5 separate regions of the Homo sapiens genome follow, and all the other regions are linked to region 2. Evidence: promoter capture Hi-C in 16 types of primary human blood cells and fetal thymus (Javierre and others, 2016). All regions are on one chromosome and are shown on one strand. Each heading gives the region's core, a stretch centred on a gene start or on the middle of the fragment in contact. The rest is flanking DNA. Distances are from core to core; before and after follow the strand shown.

Region 1 (4,227 bases), core at 1,233-3,732, 580 kb before region 2:
AGAAGAGATCAATTTGGTTTGGGTGGGAGAGGAATGTCTGCAGAAAAAAGATGATACTTAAGCTTATCCTTGAAAGATGAATTGGTGCCCTCAAAGCACTCAACAGAGAAAGGGCATTCTAGGGAGAGGAAGTCATGTGAGCAGAGAAAAGAGGCTTAAAGAGCATATGTTGATGGCACTTAAACCAGGCTCCATGACTGGAGTATATAGAGTATAAGGGGATATAGCCAGTGACATCATGCACCTTCTGTAAGTTATGCTCAAGGGTTTAAAATAGTTGTAGAAGGTAATAACTACCATTTTTCGGGAAGCAAATGCCAGATGCTTTGGTTATGGCTAGAGAAACAATCAAACAAAGATGATCCAAGAAGTCAATTCACGGTAATCAAGACTTACAATCCTAGTAAGGATCTAGAGATTTGTTGAAGTATCTTCATATCTTTGTATTTCTAGCATAGTACATTTCATATAATAGGCAGCATTTTTTTTTTTTTTTTTTTTTTTGGCTCAGCCAGAGAACCTTCTAAGTCAATCATCAGAGTTGGCATAGAATGGACTCTATAAATGGTTTTAATGAAGAACTCATCTTCAGGCATAACGGTGTCAGAGCTCTGCAAAAGAGCTATCTACACTGAGCACAGGCCTAGGTCAATAATGCGTAGGTAAGAACTTATCTCAGAGCTTACTGCAATTGGGAAGGGGTTAGGGTTACAAAGGATGATGGGTGAGAATATGTAAGGAGTAAATAATTAAAATGTATATTTCCAATCTGAAATCCATTATTGTGGTTAAAAAACAAAAACCACTCCTTCAGAGATACAGTATATAGTCCTTGGTCAACCTCAAGGTTCAGTTTACTCATATGTATAATGGTAATGATACCTACCTACCTGACAGTATTTCTGTAAGGATTAAATGAATGAATACACATAAGGCATTTATAACATGCCAGGTACACAAAAAGCATCACAAGTTGGCTATTATTAAGTTGCCTATTAAATTAGAGTCTACAAAAGATGTATGCCTATGGGATACAGAATCAGGCTGCTAGGTCATAAAATGTAAAAATACATTCACAGATTCTTGATTGAGACATACAGATTCATGGTCTCCTCATTTGGCACACATTACTTACTACCATGTAGTTCTCCTGATCTTTGCATGGATACCTATTTGCCTTATCTGCTAACAAAATTATTAGCCTTTTGAGGGCATGAGCCAATAATAATTGGTGACTGATCAACATAAAATGCTAACAATTACCTAACAACAGTGGCAATCAACCAACCTCAAATAAATGTTTGAATCAGTATTGTACAATAAAGGGACAAAATTACCTTGTCCAAAATTACCTGCCCAAAAGAAGAGGAAGCGCAAATCTTTGTCTTGGAGTAAAATCTGCCACTGCTGTCACCACCAGTTTAAAAAGACAGTAACTCTGAATTTTATAAATATTCTCTTTCCCTTCTTCATCTACTGAGCACGCTACCTATAACTTCTCACCATGTATATATAGCTTTTCCAACTAACATTTCTTTCTCCTCACTTATTCAGGCCACTTTCTCCTGGCTCTACTATAATAGTAGTAATAAACACAAAACCAAAAGAGTTAATAAAAGATGCCTTCCAAGTTCTTTTTCAGTAAGTTTAAGAAATACAATGAAATAGTGATGAAAATCACTGTGTAGCATTTTTCAATCAACCTTCGTTATGGCAGATGTGCAGTAGAATGAAGAGGGAAGGGTAAATTCAAAAGTAATAAAGCTTCCTCTCAACTTTAGTCAAGGCATACATGTCTGATTCTACAAGGCCTTCAAAGAAATTCATGCAAGGAATGCGCCTCTTGCGACTTGGTCACATGCAAAAATGAAGCAAGAAGCACATCTGTTTGGAGCTTGCCCCAAATGCCTCAAGTTCTCCTCCAAACTAGGTTCATAACTCCCACCCACAGAGAGAAAGCCAGTGCCTGAGGCAGCACCCAGGGACAAGCAAATTAGCATTTCCAAGGTCAATTGCTGACAGGCCTAATTGTTTATAGCAACTAGAGTACAGTATTCTGGCTGCTGAAGTTAACAGGCTTAACCTCTGGCTTGCCCAATATCGTAAGAAACTAGTTTACCACATCAGCCACAAAATATGAAAGTACTGTAGATGTGGATTCAAATTATCATGACATTTCAAACAGAAGCAAATACTAGCAGGATCCTCAGAAGTAAGTCATTTTAGGCTGACTAAACTATTTTTAAAATTGGCATTTTATGTATTAAAATACCAATCACACCTAGGGTAGAAAAGTGACAAATACAAAAGAAATCAACAGATAATAACTCGTTTTACCGACTGGTTTGATTTGAGTACTCTCCAAAACTTCTAAAATGTTACATGATGATTGATTTAAATATCCTTATGCTTTCTTGCCCTTCTCTGACACAGTCACTGACAAATGAAATAACCTATATCTGTGCTGTTATCTAATACAGTACCCACTTTTCACATGTGGCTACTAAATATATGAAATATGGCTAGTCCAGGTTGACATGTACTGTAAGATTCTAATTTTAGTATCAAAAAAGTCAAAATAATATTAGTAACTTTCATATTGATTATATGTTAAAATATTTTAGACATATTTGTTTAAATAAAACATTTCTAAAAGTAATCTTTCCTCTTTCTTCTTACTTTTTGTAATAAGGACAGCAGAAAATTTTAAATTACACATGTGGCTAACACTTTATATAAATAATGCTTTACATATATAAATAATAATGCTTTACATATATAAATAATGCTTTACATTTATATATAACAAATAATTTCATTTATAAAGTACAGAAAGAAGAGGGAGAAAAAATAGGTCTGGATAATAAAATAATCTTCTCTAGAATAATCAAGTTGGTTTAGCTATGTTAATTGCCAATCTACAAAAAGCTCCTTTCTGCTTACTAGAAGACGTAAAATTTTATGTCTTTTAAAAAGGAATCTGATGTCTCAAAAATAATCCTAAAGTCTGTTCTATCTACTTCTTCCATAAGCTGTCATCTTTGCTTAGCATTAAACTAGTCTCAATTATTTCCAATGATCAAAGAGATATAATAAAGTGCTAGTCTAATTTTAATCTGATTGAGTGACTCCAATTCCATTTTTTCTGTGATGGTCATTTTCAAACCCTGTTAGGCCACTGAAACCTAAACCAAGCTTCAGCTCCAAAGACAAAAAAGCAGAATTAATAGAAAAATTATTCTCAGGATTCTAGAAAAACCCAGATGGTATTCAGATACTATACACGCTGTTTTAAAAACTAAAAAGTGACTCATTTACTGTTTCACAAAGTGACATCCTAATGTGAATGGGAGAGCTTAGCAAACAGGGGAACACAGCAAGTAATTATTTCCACACACGCCATCATGTGGAGAAACCATGCCAACTTTCAGGTTGTTACAGTCGGTGGAGGAAAGAAAATCTGGAGGTGTTGGAATGATTGGAAATTTATGGAGTGAGATTCCACGGTAACAGGAGGTGAGATGAGGTGAACAGCAGCCAAAACTTTCCTCTCAATAGCTCTTAAAAAGGAAACTACTCAACTTTCTGAGTAAGGAAGCCAATAGGAAAGCACATTTCACCCTTTTTGACATTCTAAAACTGCCCCAAATACAACTGGGCCACTGGAGGAAGGACAAAATTACAAGAAATTTATGCGCACAATATGTATAAGTCTTTTAAAAGTGGTTTTAAAATGTAATCGATAACAAAATCAAGATCCATTAACCTGGAAGAATAAATACTTATGATTCATATGAAATGTTTATTTTTATTTTGTGAAAGGATCTGCATCAATCACTGGTAAATGAAACTGATTAACCCACACAACTGAAAAGGAGAGCAGCAAAGGTGAGAGGTATAGTCCTCATTCCTGGAAGAGTTGATCTAAAAATTTAACCTTAATAGTCGTATAGTTCTCTGGTCTAATAGAATCAACACATTTTTACTTTTTATATACATGAGATAATTCAGGCTCCAAATTCCAATAATTTAGTGATTGTATCTTTTATATAATCCTAAACTGTGCAATAAGCACTGTTCAAAAAGCCAATAGCTACTTCATAAGAAGTGTTCTGGTGCCACCTAGTGGTATTTCCTACCAAATGGGAAATACTGACTAGAGAAGGGTTCTCAAAGTGTACCCGCAGACCCTGGGAACTTCTCAGAAATGCACATTCTTAGACTCAT
Region 2 (4,088 bases), core at 635-3,134:
TGAACTCCTGGCCTCAGGTGATCCACTCACCTCAGCCTCCCAAAGTACTGGGATTATAGGCGTGAGCCATCATGCCCAGCCAACAGTCGTGATCTAACAAGCAATTCGAACTACAGCTCTAGAGACAAATGAGCGCAGGTGGTGACAGCACTAAATGAGGCTGCCCGAGTACATACAACAACACAGTATGCCTAGGATGGAACCACAGAGAACAGCACAATGAGGGCAAATGGAGGAAGAAATTAAGGCAAGGATTGAGAAAGAATGTCAGATCTAAAAAATGCTGAGCCATAACTGTCATAGTAGCTAGTTTATATCATTTTCCTCTAGAACTATGGACTTTAGTATTCCCAGCTATAGTTCAGTATTGCTTGAATTCTTTTTTTCATGTTTAACTTTTTTTGACACATAATTATTGTACCTATTTATGGGGTACATGTGATATTTTAATACATCCATATAATGTATAATGATCAAATCAGGGTAATTTGGATATTCATCACCTCAAACATTTACCATTTGTGTTGGGATACCTGAATCCCTGATGGCTCAACTTCCTTCATCATCGATTTGTTTACATGTCCATTTTCCCCACTAATCCGTGAGCTGCTGCTGCTCAAAAATGGATTTACTAACATTTATATATTTAGCATAGAGCATAGAATCTGAATTGCAAATTCTGTCAAATCAATAAATAAATAAGGAAAACTCAAGGAAGAAACTAACAATCCCATCACATTGTACTTGGCCATCTTCCTGCCAAATCAAGAGAAGTATGTCAGTGATTTTCTAATAGTCACATATATGCAATCTGGGCTTCGAGGGTACCCTCTGTAATTCTTCCAGGCCTACTCCATTTTCCATAGAGTTTTTTTCCCAGAAGGCCTTCTTATAAAACTACGTTTGGAGAGTCGTAAGACTGGAGTGGAGGCGAGGCACTCACACATCTTGGGTTGTTAGCCCACCCTGCAATGAATTTAGGTGATTAAAATCTACACATTTTAACACTATGTTCTCAGACTAGTCTCAGACGGATAGAGGTCGAAAGAGAATTATGTAAGAGGTGAAAAAGATGTAAAGGTAATGAAAAGGACTAGATGAAGCTAAAAAGAGAAAAGCTAATGGGAGGGGTGGGAGAATGATGATGCTTTGGAGAAAGACCTAAATTTTAACCCTGGCTCAGACACTTAGAAACTCTATCACCTTGCGCAAGTTACCAGCTGTGCTCATCTTCTTATCTGTAAAATAAGCTTAAGATAATTCCTAACTCCTAGAGTTTTGCAGACTGAAGAAAATAATGCATAGTTTATTGCTGTTAATATTGGAAAGGAGAAGATCGTGAAGAAAACGATTGAGCGAGCGCTGGACCCATGACAATTACAATTTTAGGCACTTTCCTTTATTTCACTTAATTTTCCTGCGACCCTCTGCGCTGGTCGTGCGTCCGTTTTACTAAACAAAAAGCTGACGCCCAGACCCGACAAGCAACTCTACAAGGTCTCCCGGCCATAAGTGGCGAAGCCTGGATTTGAACCCGGGTCTACCATAGGATTCTGTGAAGCGAGAGGCCACCTTCCAATTCCGTTCCCGAAGTCCTTGAACCTCCAGGTACCCAGGGGCCTCTCCACCTCCATGGGGCCCCGAGGGTCACCTCCCCGAGTCCTGGGTCCCCATCCCTTACCTCTGGACGCACCACGACTCGAGGTGGCGTAGCGCCCGCTTATAAAGCCGCAACACCTTTTGCTGATGGGTCAGGTAGGGTCCCGACGCCAAGAACGCCATTACGGCGCTGACCTTCCCCGGCCGCGCGGAGAGCCGGGAAACTGCACGCCTGCTGCGGGTGACTGAGCGGGGCCAGCCGGAAGGGCGGAGTTGCCGGCGGCCACTTCCGCTTCCGCTGGGGAGGTCCTCCATGCGCAGTCATGAGTCGCTTCAAGTTTATCGGTAAGAGGAGCGTTTTCCACGCCCTTGGGTCTTTCTGACTTGTCCCGGGCGTCGGTCACCAAGGTCACAGGACCCAGGAATTGCGCCCTCCGGCATTGTAAGGGTTGAAAGGGCCGCTCAGTGGAGGAGGGCGCGGGGAGGTTTCTGGGTGCTGGTAATGCTCTGGTTCTTGATCTAGGTTCTGGATTCACGAGGGTGTATTTATTTGTAAAAATTAACAAGCCGTACAGTTATGATTTTTGTGCTGTTTTCAACATCTGTAATGTATTCAGTTTTTTAAGAAGAAAACTCCAAAAAGGCCAATCACTATGTTTCCATTCATCCCACGTGCACCTCCCGGCCCTTCCCCTCTGCCTTGGCGGAGAGGCTGACCGCTTCTGGGGACCAATTCACTCAAGCATTCATTCGTTCATATCATAGTTAGTGAGCGCCTCAAGTGGGCCTGGCACTGGCCTAGGAACACAGGGCACAAAGCTCCCAGTTGTACTGTCATCACCATCTGGTGGAGAAACTAGAAAACACAAGTAATGGGGAGAAAAACAAACTGTACTTGGCAAGTACAATGATCCAGTCGGCATCAGTAGAACGAGAGGGAGAATGCTGCGGGATTTAAATGGGCATGATCCTCGTTTTGTGGGGTTTCCAGCTACCTGAAGGTGGGAAATGACAGTGATCACACCTCTGCTTTAGCAAGGTAATCCTGATAGCTATTATGTAGGTTTTGTGGGAAATAGGGAGAGGTAGGGAAGCATTTCAAGAGCTTAAACTAGGGTAATGGAAAAGAGAGAGAAATGGAAGAGATGTGTGCAGCATTTAGCAGCTGAGTGTTCATGGCCGGTAGTAGAGAGTGAACAAAGATGACTCAGGGTTTGGAAAAGTACTTAAATATGAAATGGAAGCATGACTAGTTTGGCGGTGAAGAGAGGTACCCAGGTCCATTTGGATTAGGTTAAGTTTGAGATAATTATAGGACATCCAGGTAGAGATATCTGGGCAATTGGGAATGTGGTCTGGCAATCAAGAGATTAGGATTATACATTTAGATCTGAGAGTTATTTAAGCAGTATTTTTTTTTTTCAAAGACGTTGTGCTAAGTCCTGTGGAACTGTAAAATCTAGTGGTGCAGTTTTCAGACTGGAGACCTAAGACCTATGTACTGTACAGTCAAAAGCAAATGCAGGGGAGAATATGTTAAGTGCCAGGAAAAAGGTTTTGAAATTGCTGTGGGAAAGCCTGGAGTAGGGGTTTGGGGAGGGGTTGTCAAATAAGACATTGCCGTGTCTTAGCCTTTCCATCCTAACCTTTGATATAATTGATGAGGGAGATGGAATAAAGAGCCATGAAGTACTCCGTAAAGAAAGGCCACATAACTTTTTAAAAGTGTGTTTATGTTATACAACCAAATTCCTGCCTCAAGTTAATGTCTTAAATCCATCCTCCATGTAGACTCCATTTTGGTGTATCTAAAAATCAAATCAGCTAAATGTTTCTTTTGCTTCAAATCTTTCATTTACGCTCCTCAGGATAGCCTAAATGCTTACACACCATACAAAGCCCTTCTGTGGTCCAGTCCTGCCCACTTTTCTAGCCCATCCCTGGGCTGCTCTATAAACACTTGTGCATGCTGTTTGTTACCTCTGACAAGGTTTTAGAGTGGCAGTTTGGGGCCAAAATATTCCTCTGCCTACCAACTACCCTGTTGCCTGTCTGCCTACTCACTCCTTAAAACTTATACCACATTATTTATAATTAAATATGAGTATGCCTTTCCCACTAGATCAAACTCTTAAGGCAGATACTGGTATGGTATTTATATTTTTTTCCTAGGGGCGTAGTACAATGACTGTTTGGGAAAGTATGAATGAGTGGCTTTAGTGCTAAGGTGATAAGAAAATTAGTAAAGGGATTAGCATCAGATAAAATAAGCAAGAAAAGACTTCTTAAAGAAGGTGACTTTATTGGAATAAATAATTGAAATAAATTTTTTTCTGTATGGTTTCCTTTAGCCCCACTCTCCTAAAGTAACCATATTAAAAGTTTGAAGTATAGCCTTCCCTAATTTTTTAATAGATTGTTATACAGATTCATAAAAATACAACATATCAAGGTTTTTTTTTTTCCTTTTGAAACAGAAATGAGATCAT
Region 3 (4,107 bases), core at 1,608-4,107, 510 kb before region 2:
CAGGCATGAGCCACCACGCCCGGCCCATATCCGTCTTTTAACAGACCACTATCATCACTGGGGCATGCAAGCTCCTGTCATCTTTTGTTTGTTTATTTTTTTCTTCTCCTGGATCCCTGCTTCCATTTCCATTACCCATAGCACCAACTTTGTGGATTTGGTAATTGTTCCTACATATGCAAGTATTCTTATTTTTAGCATATGGCATTATTTGATGTGTGCATGTGCTTTTGATTTATCTCAACCATATTGTGCTCTAAGTCTCATTCTTTTTCCAGCTTCTCTTACTGGTTATTGCTTTTGCAATTTATTTATATTGCTATAGGTCAGATAGTAGGTTACTTTTTACTGCTGCATAGAATTCCACATTTTTCTTAACCATCCAGCTTGGGACAGACACCTGTGCCCCCCATTATCACAACCAATGTCATGATGAACGTCTCTGAGCATATCCCCACTCCAGACCTGTGCAAGAGTTCCTCTGAAATCTACATTCTTTTCAAGTGGCCGCAGACCAATCCATAGTACGAATGCACCGTGGTGTATTTACTATTCCACCACTGATGGATGTTGAGATACAAATGTTCCTTGACTTACAGTGGTGTTACATCCCAATAAACTCATCACAAGTTGGAAATATCAGAAGGCCATTGGGACTTAACGGCTTATATCTTCACCAATACTTGATATTATCCACTTTCTAATTTTGTTCTCCCAAGAGGTATAAAGTATCTCATTGCTTTTTTAATTTGGAATGTTATGGTGAGTAGCGATGGGCCCATTCATATAGTTTATGGTGCTTTTCTTTATTTTTCTATATATCTGACATCAGTAGAATCTCAACATTCCTAATTGCCATATTAATATTTGCATTATTAAAATCAAAGAAAATAGAGGAAATGTACCTAAATGGAACTTTGGTATGTGTTTTCTGGAAGTATGCTAAAGGAAATACCATGGTATTTCCTAGAATATTAATAGAATTTGCTAAACATGCTTTAGGCCTGATCCCAGGTGAATTCAATTGATGTGTAGAGAATGTACATGCATTTTAGTCACTTCTTACACACAGGATGATAAATCCTAGGACTGCAAAGTGACCACTGTAAGAAGGATGTAATAAAACCTCTTACAGGTAATTAACAATAATTATCAAAAGAATTTTACCAAGACTGCTTGGTAAAATACTGATCTTTTCCCACAGTGTTTCAGATTATAACAGCAGAAGGAATACTCTGCTGACCAACTACATTCAACCCAGTAGACTCTCTCTGCTAGTCTACCAATAACAACTAAGGGCTTTTAAAAGTAATCCTGTGGCCCTCGCTGATCTTTAACCTCAGAGTGTTGAGGTTGTGTTTCAAACACTTATAAAAAGTGTAGGTTCAGTTTGGTTGATATTGACTTAAAACAAGTGAGATATACACAGAGATATAAGCATTCATTGTTAGAGGCAGCAAAAAAAAAAAAAAAGAAATACAGGTCGTCTCAAACTTAAAATGATTCAACTTCATATGATACCCATACTGTTTTTCACTTTCAGTATAGTATTCAATAAATTACATGAGATATTCAATACTTTATTATAAAATAGGCTTTGTGTTGGATGATATTGCCCAACTGTAGGCTAATGTAAGTGTTCTGAGCACATTTGAAGTAGGGTAAGCTAAACTATGATGTTTGGTAGATTAGGTATATTCAGTGTATTTTTGACTTCTGATATTTTCAACTTACGACGATTTTATTGGAATGTAACCCCATCTTAAGTCAAGGAGCATCTGTAATCTAAACATCCATCATCAGTAGGGGAATGGTTAAATATTCCATGGTGCATTCGTACTGTGGATTGGTCTAGAGCGATTCAAAAAGAATTTAGTACTGGAAAATCTCCAAGGTGGAAAATGAAAAAAGCAAATTGCAGAAAAACATGTATGTATGTGTGTGTGTGTGTGTGTGTGTGTGTGTGTAGTGTGTGTGATATACATGCATGCAACTATGTGTATATATGTATAATATATGTGTGTGATATACTTGCGTGTCTCTGTACATATACATGTATATGATCCCATTTAGATTTTTGAAATTAAATATATGTGTAAGGATGGATATTTATGTATATAAACGAATGGAGAAAGGTCTGGATGATCCATATGAAAACAGTTACTGTTGTTAACTTCAGGGGAAGGGAATAGAAATGTGAGGAAGGGGTGTGTGAAGATGGCTTTCTCTTAGCTGTGAACACTTCCACAGATTAGTGAGAATGCGGGAAGGATTAGAAGAGCCGCATGCGATCTTTAGATTCACGAAAGCATTGAACTCTTTTAGTAAATCTGTTCTTGTAAGGAATATTTCTTTGAAAGCTTCATGATACTTCTTTGATTCTGTACTCATTGACTATATCTTTATAATTTACCTTTTTATTGTATAATAAAGCACAGATGCTGAAAACTAAAGAAAGAATGATGTAGCCTATTAGGTTATTACAAGGTAAACACAAGTCATTCTGACTACCACTTAAGAAATAGGATTTAGTGAGCCCCACTCCTGAAAGCCCCCTCATGCACCCTGACCTCATCTCAGGCCTCCTGTGTATAGTTTTATTATCCAGTGAAACTATATGTCATTAATTTCCAGACTATAGCTTAGATTTGCCCATTTGAAAAACTATGTTATGTCTTTTAAGTCTTTTTTTTTGAGACAGAGTTTCACTCTTGTTGCCCAGGCTGGAGTACAATGGTGCAGGCTCACCGCAACCTCCTCCTCCCGAGTTCAAGCAGTTCTCCTGCCTCAGCCTCCTGAGTAACTGGGACAACAGGCATGTGCCACCACGCCCGACTAATTTTGTATTTTTAGTAGAGACGGGGTTTCTCCATGTTGGTCAGGTTGGTCTGGAACTCCTGACCTTGGGTGATCCGCCTGCCTCAGCTTTCCAAAGAGCTGGGATTACAGGCGTGAGTCACCACGCCCGGCCCTCCTTCCTTTCTTTCCCTTTAATTCATCTGTTGAAGAACATAGGGCCTTTCACCTTCAGTTGCTCCACAGTCTGGATTTCCCTGATTGAACGATCTTGACGTAGTTTAATGTGTTTCTCTGGCTTTTGTGTTTTTGTAACCCCCTTGCAGTTGTCTTATTTGAAATTTAAATACAATCAAAACTGGATGGAACCCATTAATTGCCTTTATGACCTTTTAAAATAATGGTTCTTTACAAATTAAAAGTAAAAGAAACAAGTCTCAGAGAATTCAAGGGAGTATGTAAAAATCATTTGATGTTTTATGGATCTGATAAGAGACTTTTTAAAGGAATAACAAAACCTTTTCATTATAGGAGAAATAATTAGCAAAGTAAGCTTGTAGAGTTAGATAGCAGATTTGCTTTCTTATTTTATCTCCCTAATTCCAAGAATGCTGAAAGAAAAGATAATTATTCAATTTACAGAGTGGCCCGACCTCAAATCTGAGTTTGCTCATGTGGATATAAGGTGCCTAGAAATAAAATCTAAAGGAAGAACATGCATCTGTAAATTCAGTCATAGGTCCTTCATCCTGCCCCTCCAAAAAGAGGGGCCATTAATGAGAATGTGAGGCCATTTAAAACTCCAAAAAGAGGGGCCATTAATTAGAATGTGAGGCCATTTAAAACTTTCCTTATTCACCGTCTTTGAAATGTCTTGTTGTAAAATTACCATCATGAACTTTGCTGAAATAAACAGAGTCCTAAAAAGGTGACAGGTTTAATAATTCCATCCAAGCTGTGCAAGATCACAGGGACAGGAAAGGAAAAAATTCAAATCATTTAGTGAGGAGGTAGGAAAATGCCCCACTGCAGATTCTGAAAGCCATCTTTCCTCTGGATTTCGTTAGGACTGAATTTTTCGTAACTATCATTTAATACTTTTGATTGGCACTTAGGTGGATCCAAAGCAGTTGCTGGAAGATGGAATAAGGAAAGAGCTTGTGAAGCGCGTTGCCTTTGCCCTGCATAGGGGACTGATATTCAACCCTCGAGCCAAGGTACCCAGTGACCAGAGTGGGCCTGTCCTCTTCTCCGCCCAGCTTGCAGCATGGACTAGAATGCCATTTTTAACCTATCGCGAACAAGACCTTA
Region 4 (3,727 bases), core at 674-3,173, 530 kb before region 2:
ACTATAATTAAAGACATATTTATTATTAAGAAAGACCAAAATCCAATTACATGAAACCTGTAAGATACACACCTGAAAAAATACCCTAGCACAGTGAAAATGAAGGGATTTTAAAAAAAGATATCCCAGGCAATTGCCAACCAATAAAACAACTGGTGAGAAAACATTAATATTACACAATAGAGAATTTCAAAAAGCAACGTTAATAGGTGTAAAGAGATCTTTATACCTATTAACGTGAATTAACAATCAGGAACACTTACTTAACAATCAGGAACACTTACCTATATATTTGGAAAATCTTGGTTTTTCATTGGAATGGAATTTAAACATGGAGTGGGTATTGCCTTCTATAACTTTAGTATTCAACCCTTTGCCTTGAAGTGAGTAGGAATTTAACAAATTCTGAATGTCTCCTCTTTCAGGTAATTAGTATTTACATGGGGATCACAGTTAATCTAGTAGATGCTTGGGAACCTTACAAAGCTGCAAAAACTGCTTTAAATAATACCCTGGACCTTTCAAATGTCAGAGAACAGGTAGGTTCTAATCTGGGGACATTCTCTGATAACTGCAGGCCTAGTTTATGAAGTAGCAAATAAGCTAAGTAGATTTCCCAAGGAATTTGGAAGATAATCACTTAGATAATTTAATGCAATGATTAATAAAAGGTGAATTTTATAGGTTAGAATAAGATAGGTAATTGTAGGTTTTGTTATATAGTATATGTAAATTGAAGATTAGGATCCCAAGGAAGAGTCAGTACCCTAAGACAAAGAAGCATGGCATATGCCCCAAATGACTTAGTTTACTTTTGCTTAAAGACTATATTCTCATGGCCAGAGTTGGTTGTACCAATAGCTGGAATTAATATGTTTTTATAAGTAGGATGAATGATGAAGATGATAACTGAATATGGATAATATGTCCTGTCACTGTAATTTAAATTTATCATTTGTGTTGTGCTAAATAAGCAACAAGACTCAAGACATTCATCTTAAAGGTTAAACGGTTATATTCTATCTCTTTTGTTCTTACACAAGGCAGAAGGGAACATCCAAGTAAGTAGAGGAATAAAGATAAAATCTTGGGGAGCATACTTGATATTTCTAAATGGTTATGTTCCTCATCCTGGCTCAGTTACTGAGTTTCCTGTGTGGATAAAACAATATTGACTCAAAAAACTTCATCATGTTTTATTCAAGTAAATTGAATTCCATAAATAATGCACAAAATAATTTCAATGTTGGCACATCTCCTAGAAATATATTAGAGAAAGTGGCACTTTTATACTTAGCAACATCAGATCATTAATTTTTCATTGCTAAAATCCCTTTCTAAAATTGCATTTTCTCATTTGTGACATTTTTAAGAGGTTTCTTGATACCACAGATTTCAACTAACTTGATGAGGTTAATGATGTTTAACATTTGACTTCCTTTAAGTAAAGCAGAATGACCAAATTTTCCAAAAAGCTGGTTTGGAAATTCATTTTTGATATACTAAGGTGTATTTTTTGCTAAGCTTTCATAAGCCTGTAGAAGAAGTCTTATATTTTAAGTGTTTCTGCTCTGTTCTGCCTTCTTTGTCAACAGTATTAGCAAGAACAAGCAATTGAACTTCTGTCTTTATTTTCTTTTTCATCTAAGTTAATAATAGAAGAGTTCTGAGGAACCACCTGGTCCAAGTCTCCGTTTGAAATTTGAAGAAACCAATACACAGGGGTTAAGCCCCAAGTCACACCAAAGTTTAATCACAGCCAGAACTAGGATGTAGTCTCAGAATTCTAAGTCCAGTGCTTTTTTCAAATATGTTCAATAAGCCAGTTGTCTTTGAGCCCAATAAGTATAGTCCATATGTTATTCATCTTATATAGAAATGTTATCTTTGAGCCCTAGAACTATAGTCCATATGTCATTCATCTTATATAGAAATTACATAAAAATGTTAATGTTTGAGCCCTATAACTGTAGTCCATATGTCATTCATCTTGTACAGAAATTATATAAAAATGTTAAAGTTTGAGCCCTATAACTGTAGTCCATATGTCATTCATCTTATAGAAATGTTATCTTCGAGCCCTATAACTGTAATCCATATGTCATTCATCCTATATAGAAATGTTACTATTTGTCAGTGAATTCATTTGAATGTGATTTATTTTCAAGATAAATGACTTTTTAAATGTAATTCAAGTTTCTTATTTGTCAAGGCAAGCAGATATGCTACTGTCAGTGAAAGAGTGCATGCTCAAGTGCAGCAATTTCTAAAAGAAGGTTATTTAAGGGAGGAGATGGTTCTGGACAATATCCCAAAGCTTCTGAACTGCCTGAGAGACTGCAATGTTGCCATCCGATGGCTGATGCTTCATACAGCAGACTCAGGTAATGCACAAAAGGGGTGGCCGTTTATATTACTCCACATAAAGACTCTCAGAATCAGGACCTACTTCACGATGCAGAGTGGTTTAGCAGGGAGAGAGGCCTTGGATGAGAATCAAGTTGCTTTTTAAAGTTAGTCATTTTTTGTCAACTTGGATAGGCCACTAGCATACCTGAAAAGCTCTCCCCTGTCAGGTACTGTTAGGTGCTAGGGAATAAGAGGATGTTTATCTCTCATGTTCAAGGAGCTTGTCACTGATCAGAATGGGGAGATCAAATGTAGACATATGAAAAAATAGAACTGCAGATCTGTGGTAGGCAGAATAGTGCCTTCCAGCCCACACCCAGAGATGTTCATGCCCTAGTCCCTGAACCGGTAGATATATTACATGAAAAAGGGGGATTGAGGTTGCCTATTAGCTGACCTTTAAGGAGATGTTTCTGGATTATCCCAGTGGACTCAGTGTAATCATAAGGGTCCTTGCTGTGTGTGGTGGCTCATACTTGTAATCCCATCACTTTGGGAGGCCAAGGCAGGAGGAGAGCTTGAGCCCAGGAGTTCAGAACCAGCCTGGGTAACACAGTGAGATCCCATCTCTACAAAAAGTAAAAAAATTAGCTGGGCATGGTGGCACACACCTGTAGTCCCAGCTACTGGGGAGGCTGAGGTGGGAAGATCACTTGAGCCTGGGAGGTTGCAGCTGCAGTGAGCCAAGATCATGCTACTGCACTGCAGCCTAAGTGACAGAGCAAGACCACGTCTCAAAAAAGAATAATAAAATAAGAGCCCGCCCCCCCCCCCCACTTTTTTTTTTTTTTTAAGACAGGATCTCAAGTTCCCCAGGTTTGAGTGCAGTGGCACAATCTCAGCTCACTCAGACCTCCTGGGCTCAAGCGATACAACTTCCGCAATCCCCGCAAGCAGCTGGGACTACAGGTGTGTGCCATCATGCCTGGCTAAGTTTTTTGTATTTTTTTGTAGAGACAGTGTTTCACTGTGTTGGCCAGGGTGGTCTCAAACTCCTGAGCCCAAGCAGTCTGCCCACCTCGGCCTCCCAAAGTGCTAGGATTATAGGTCTGAGCCACCATGCCCAGCCTGTAAATATAGGGGTCCTTAAATCAGGAAGAGGGAGGTAGAAGTGTCAGAACCAGAGAGATAGCATTGTGACAAAAACCTGACTGGCCATTGCTGGCTTTAAAGATGGAGGGGGCCACAAGCCAAGGAATACAGGCAGCCTTTAGCTGCTGAAAACAAGAAAACAGACTTTTCCCCTAGAATGTCCAGAAGGAGCCCAGCGCAGCCATCACCTTGATTTTAGCCCAGTGAGCCCCATCTCAGATTTGTC
Region 5 (3,753 bases), core at 1,115-3,614, 890 kb before region 2:
GTCCGACTCAAGTGTAAGCAGCCTTGAGTTACAATTCTCACAGGAAGGGTATGGAATCCTGCGAATGGGTTTTCCACTTGTTTGTTTATCCCCCCACACCCGACCCCACCCCTAGAAATGAGTAGCATCTCCTCTCTTCTAGGAAGCTGGCTGGTCTCTTTAAAGGCCTTTTGTTCAGTCCAGTTACTCATATCCTAGACTCAACTGGAAACGGTGACACACGGGCTGTCACCATCTGGATTCAGCTATTATCTGCTCAGAGGAACTGGAAGGGGTTGCACAATGGCCAGACTCACCCCACCTCTAAGAGGCCTGGCTGCTCTGGCACCAGCTAGAAAAATCCCCTGCTGCCCCCTCCTCCCACCCCATCCCATCCCATCCCACCACACACACATACATGCTTGTCCCAGAACAGCTCTTAGCCCCAGTCATGGAGAAGAAAAGGTTTTTTTTTCCTCCCTATTAAACTGGGCTTGATCATGCGTCTGAAATTTCATTCGGGTTGGGCAGTAGGTGGCAGCAGCGAGCCCCGGGACGGGGTCGGGGTGTTGGGAGTGTCAGGTGAGTTGCGGAAAACCCAGAAGCGACTTAACTGGGGGGTGATCCTATCTTTCGGGTGAAAAGGAGCGGCCCGAGGGTGCTCTGGGGTGCCTCAAGCAGGGGTGCCACGCTCGCATAAAGTAGACTGTGGGAACGTTCTGCGTCTACCCGCGCAGGAGGAGGACCCGGCGGATCCTGTTTCTAGGAGCTGTGTCTCCTCCTCCTGGATGGGATCCCTATGTTCAAAGGAAAATCGCTGGCTGGAAAATAAAGTGAATCGAAGCGAGGGTTCCTGGCCGGTGTGGGCTTTTCAACATTTCTACTCCGAGCAGATTCCTCCGCCTCGGGTGGATGACTCTGGGACTGCTCCCTTGGGAGGGCGTGTTCTAGTCTCAGCGCGGATTCAATTCGGAATCCCCAAGGCAGGAGCCGGACACAGTCTTCCAGCCCCCTTACCACCTACAACTGAGCCCGGGTGCCGTGCAAGCCCGGCAAGAGAGCTGCCAGCTGCTCCAAGCTCCTAGGAGGCACCCACTAAAGGGCGTCCTTCCAGGACATTGGCGGGGGAGGGGGGGTGGAGAGCGAGGAGAATGAGAGAAGGGGAATGGCATGGCCCTGGAATCCATTTCAATTCCACAACTTATATGGAACGCCACGCGCTACACTGGGCGCTGAGGAAAGGAACAGATAGAGAAAGCCACTGAACACTGCACTTCCTCTAGGCGCCCCCATTATATCACTCCATGGGAAACCCCTCGATCCACAAAAACGTGAACCTGGTCAAATGGCGTCTTATCTGACCCAATCTACTGATCCGCCCTGTGCCCAGCCCAAGCGTTGGCCGGACCCCAAGCACCTTTGCCTACCACCCCGTCCCGCGCCCCCGACCCCAGCCGGGTCCTGGCCCGGGAGCGCCTACCTTGCAGCGCAGCTCGCGTCCAGTGTGGATGCACAGCGCCCGGGACACATGCTCGCGCTCGGCTAGGGGCAGCAGCAGGTAGTCGGCGATGCGGCTGGGCCCCGGCGCGCTCCCGGAGCCTCCGCCGGCCCCCGGAGCGGCAGGCGGGGGCTGCGGGCTGCAGGGCGAGCCGGGGGGGCTGAGGTAGTCCGGGGGGCTGGAGCACTCGGAGAGGCGCGGGCACTTGGCCGCCACAGCCGCCGCGTCGTCGGCGTCCAGCAGGCGTTTGGCCGGGACGCCTCGGGTGGCTGGGAAGAGCAGGGCCGGGCCGCGGGGCTGCGAGGCGCCGCTCATGGCAGAGCGCACCGGACCGACCCGCATCCCGTCCTGGGCCGGGGTGGCCCCGGCTTTTTAAGTCCCGGGATCCGCGCGGGAAGACGCTGCGGGTTTGGTGCCGGCTCCGCGACTTCTTCCAGCCGGCGGGATGGAGTTTGCAGACTGGTCTTGGCTCGGCCCCCACGAGGGGCAAAGCAGGAGCCACTCCCCGGCGCTCGCGTTGCACGCGGGGACCACGCTGGCTGTGCGTCCGGGAGGCGGAGGCCGGCTCGAGTCCCCGGACCCCCGCAGGCAAGGGCTCCCGGAGCCTCGCTGGGGGCGGCCGCCACTATTGTTGCCGAGGCTGCCGATAGTCCGGGAGGCAGAGGCGGCGGCGGCAGCGGTCAGCGATCCCGGGGTCCCGAGCCGCGAGGACAGGATTCAGCAGGCTCGGCGGAGCCACGAAGCAAATGCACTTCCCAAAGCGATGAGTCTCCAGCAAAAGCCGGGGGAACTTTTTCGCGGCGCTCGGGATCCTGAGCGCTCCTGGGCTCCGGGCGTGTATGAGAGCGAGCGAGACGCGCTCAGAGAGAGTGACTGTGAGTGAGTGTGAGCGCTGCACCGATCCCGGCCAGTGCACTCCTCCTTCTCCTTTTCCTCCACCTCCTCCGCCTCCTGGTGACTCACGCTGTATACACACACACTCACAGGCCGGGCTGTGTAAACAGTTGGGAAGCCGGGTTGTGCAATGAGGTGGCTGCGACGACTCCGGCCCCGCCGCCCAGCGAGCAGTCTCCGGAGCGGAGGGAGGAGACTGGGGGAAGGGGAGAGGGAGTAGGAGGTGGGGGGAATGGGGGTGGACTTAGGGCTGGGGATGCTCCGGGCAGCGCGCGCTCGGGCGCAGGTGGTGCGTCCCGGGCCGGCCTGGACGCGCGCACACGCCCCCAGGGCTGGGAGGGGCTGGGCAGGAGGCGGCGCGCGCGCCCTCCCGCAGGCCCCCAGCTCAGCGGAGAAGCCGAAGGAGGGGGCGGAGGAAAAGTTCCCGTGACGTAAGGGCCCGGGGAAGTGGGCGGGAGGGACGGGGCTGCGGGGAGCGAAGCGACCGCTGATTGGTGCGCGCGCCTCATTCACAGTAAGCACAATGGGCTGCGGGCGCGAGGCGGGAGCGCGCACCACGGTTCTCTGCACCCGCCGCTCGCTGCAGCCCCGCGGCGACGCCTTTCGCCCCGGGGATCCCCCCACCGCCCAGCGCCTGGGGAGCTCCGGTTGGAGCCGTGGGCGCCGCCGAGGCCCGGCTGCAGCCGGAGGAAGGAGGGGGATAGGGAGGTGATGAATTCCAGAATCAGTCATTCACCCCCACGCGGTAGTTCCGGGGAAGACCTGTGCGTGGTAGTGGATGTGGCTTTTTTTTTTCCCTTTTCCTGCCCCCTCCCAGCTCTAATCCCCAGCGTCTGTTCGCTTCCACAAATAGAACCTTCTGTTGGAGGAAATAAAAGCAAACACTGGGCCTTCTGCGCTGCCTCCACCTCCACGCCCCCCCAACCCCCCCGCGCCTGCCGCCCGCCCGGATTGCACGGAAATAGCTTCTCCAGGCTCCCGGGCCGCCCCTTCGCGGTGACTCGCAGAAAGAGCTTCCTGAGCCAGGGCCGGTGGGAAACAAAGGATGTGGGGAGCGGGCGGAAGGGGCCCACGTGGCTGCCGCCGGATTCCTACTCCCTCCCCAGCCTCCACACGCGCCGCAGGGTCTAGGGCCTGAGTGCCAACCTGGGTAGGTGGGTAGGCTGGTGGAAGTCATTCTGGCCACTGCCAGAGATACCGCCTGCACCCGGGCAGCCCTGCCTGGTGGTGCGCATGCATTCATTCCGTGTGATTTGGAAGAGCATCAAAGTTGCGCGTGAAACAACTTGGAATCTGTCATTTTTCTTTCTTGAGTGAACCAGGTCAGTTTGGAGTCCCTGGGCACCCAACAATATAACTATTATTAGAGAGCCCTTACTTGT

The links. The method cuts DNA at HindIII sites, captures the fragments that hold promoters and counts their contacts. A CHiCAGO score of 5 or more calls a contact.
Region 1: a fragment that was not itself captured here is called in contact with the fragment with the promoter of TATDN1 in region 2 in 1 of 17 cell types (fetal thymus); the score reaches 5.2 in fetal thymus.
Region 3: a fragment that was not itself captured here is called in contact with the fragment with the promoter of TATDN1 in region 2 in 14 of 17 cell types (erythroblasts, megakaryocytes, naive CD8 T cells and 11 more); the score reaches 11.6 in erythroblasts.
Region 4: a fragment that was not itself captured here is called in contact with the fragment with the promoter of TATDN1 in region 2 in 7 of 17 cell types (megakaryocytes, total B cells, naive B cells and 4 more); the score reaches 8.0 in megakaryocytes.
Region 5: a contact is called between the fragment with the promoter of TRIB1 here and the fragment with the promoter of TATDN1 in region 2, in 1 of 17 cell types (fetal thymus). The highest score is 5.3, in fetal thymus.

The regions. Positions count from the first base shown.
Region 1 is chr8:125,118,450-125,122,676 of GRCh38, reverse strand. All of the region lies in intron 3 of NSMCE2 (NSE2 SUMO ligase component of SMC5/6 complex), which reads right to left. Among named protein-coding and RNA genes, the nearest start is that of NSMCE2, 29 kb to the right of the region's middle. The HindIII fragment of the contact is 1,431 bases long and covers 1,767-3,197 here.
Region 2 is chr8:124,536,881-124,540,968 of GRCh38, reverse strand. It overlaps TATDN1 (TatD DNase domain containing 1), which reads left to right and starts at 1,884. Exons shown (of 12, transcript NM_032026.4): 1 at 1,884-1,944. The coding sequence starts at 1,923. It overlaps NDUFB9 (NADH:ubiquinone oxidoreductase subunit B9), which reads right to left and starts at 1,846. Exons shown (of 4, transcript NM_005005.3): 1 at 1,682-1,846. The coding sequence starts at 1,782. RefSeq lists an enhancer at 1,954-2,023. The HindIII fragment of the contact is 3,000 bases long and covers 1,253-4,088 here.
Region 3 is chr8:125,050,470-125,054,576 of GRCh38, reverse strand. WASHC5 (WASH complex subunit 5) reads left to right here. Exons shown (of 29, transcript NM_014846.4): 18 at 3,912-4,013. Among named protein-coding and RNA genes, the nearest start is that of WASHC5-AS1, 12 kb to the right of the region's middle. The HindIII fragment of the contact is 989 bases long and covers 2,363-3,351 here.
Region 4 is chr8:125,071,810-125,075,536 of GRCh38, reverse strand. WASHC5 (WASH complex subunit 5) reads left to right here. Exons shown (of 29, transcript NM_014846.4): 8 at 426-539; 9 at 2,213-2,384. Among named protein-coding and RNA genes, the nearest start is that of WASHC5, 18 kb to the left of the region's middle. The HindIII fragment of the contact is 793 bases long and covers 1,527-2,319 here.
Region 5 is chr8:125,428,969-125,432,721 of GRCh38, reverse strand. TRIB1 (tribbles pseudokinase 1) reads right to left here and starts at 2,364. Exons shown (of 3, transcript NM_025195.4): 1 at 1,460-2,364. The coding sequence starts at 1,819. RefSeq lists enhancers at 602-691, 2,162-2,211 and silencers at 1,502-1,841, 2,572-3,191. The HindIII fragment of the contact is 12,242 bases long and covers 1-3,753 here.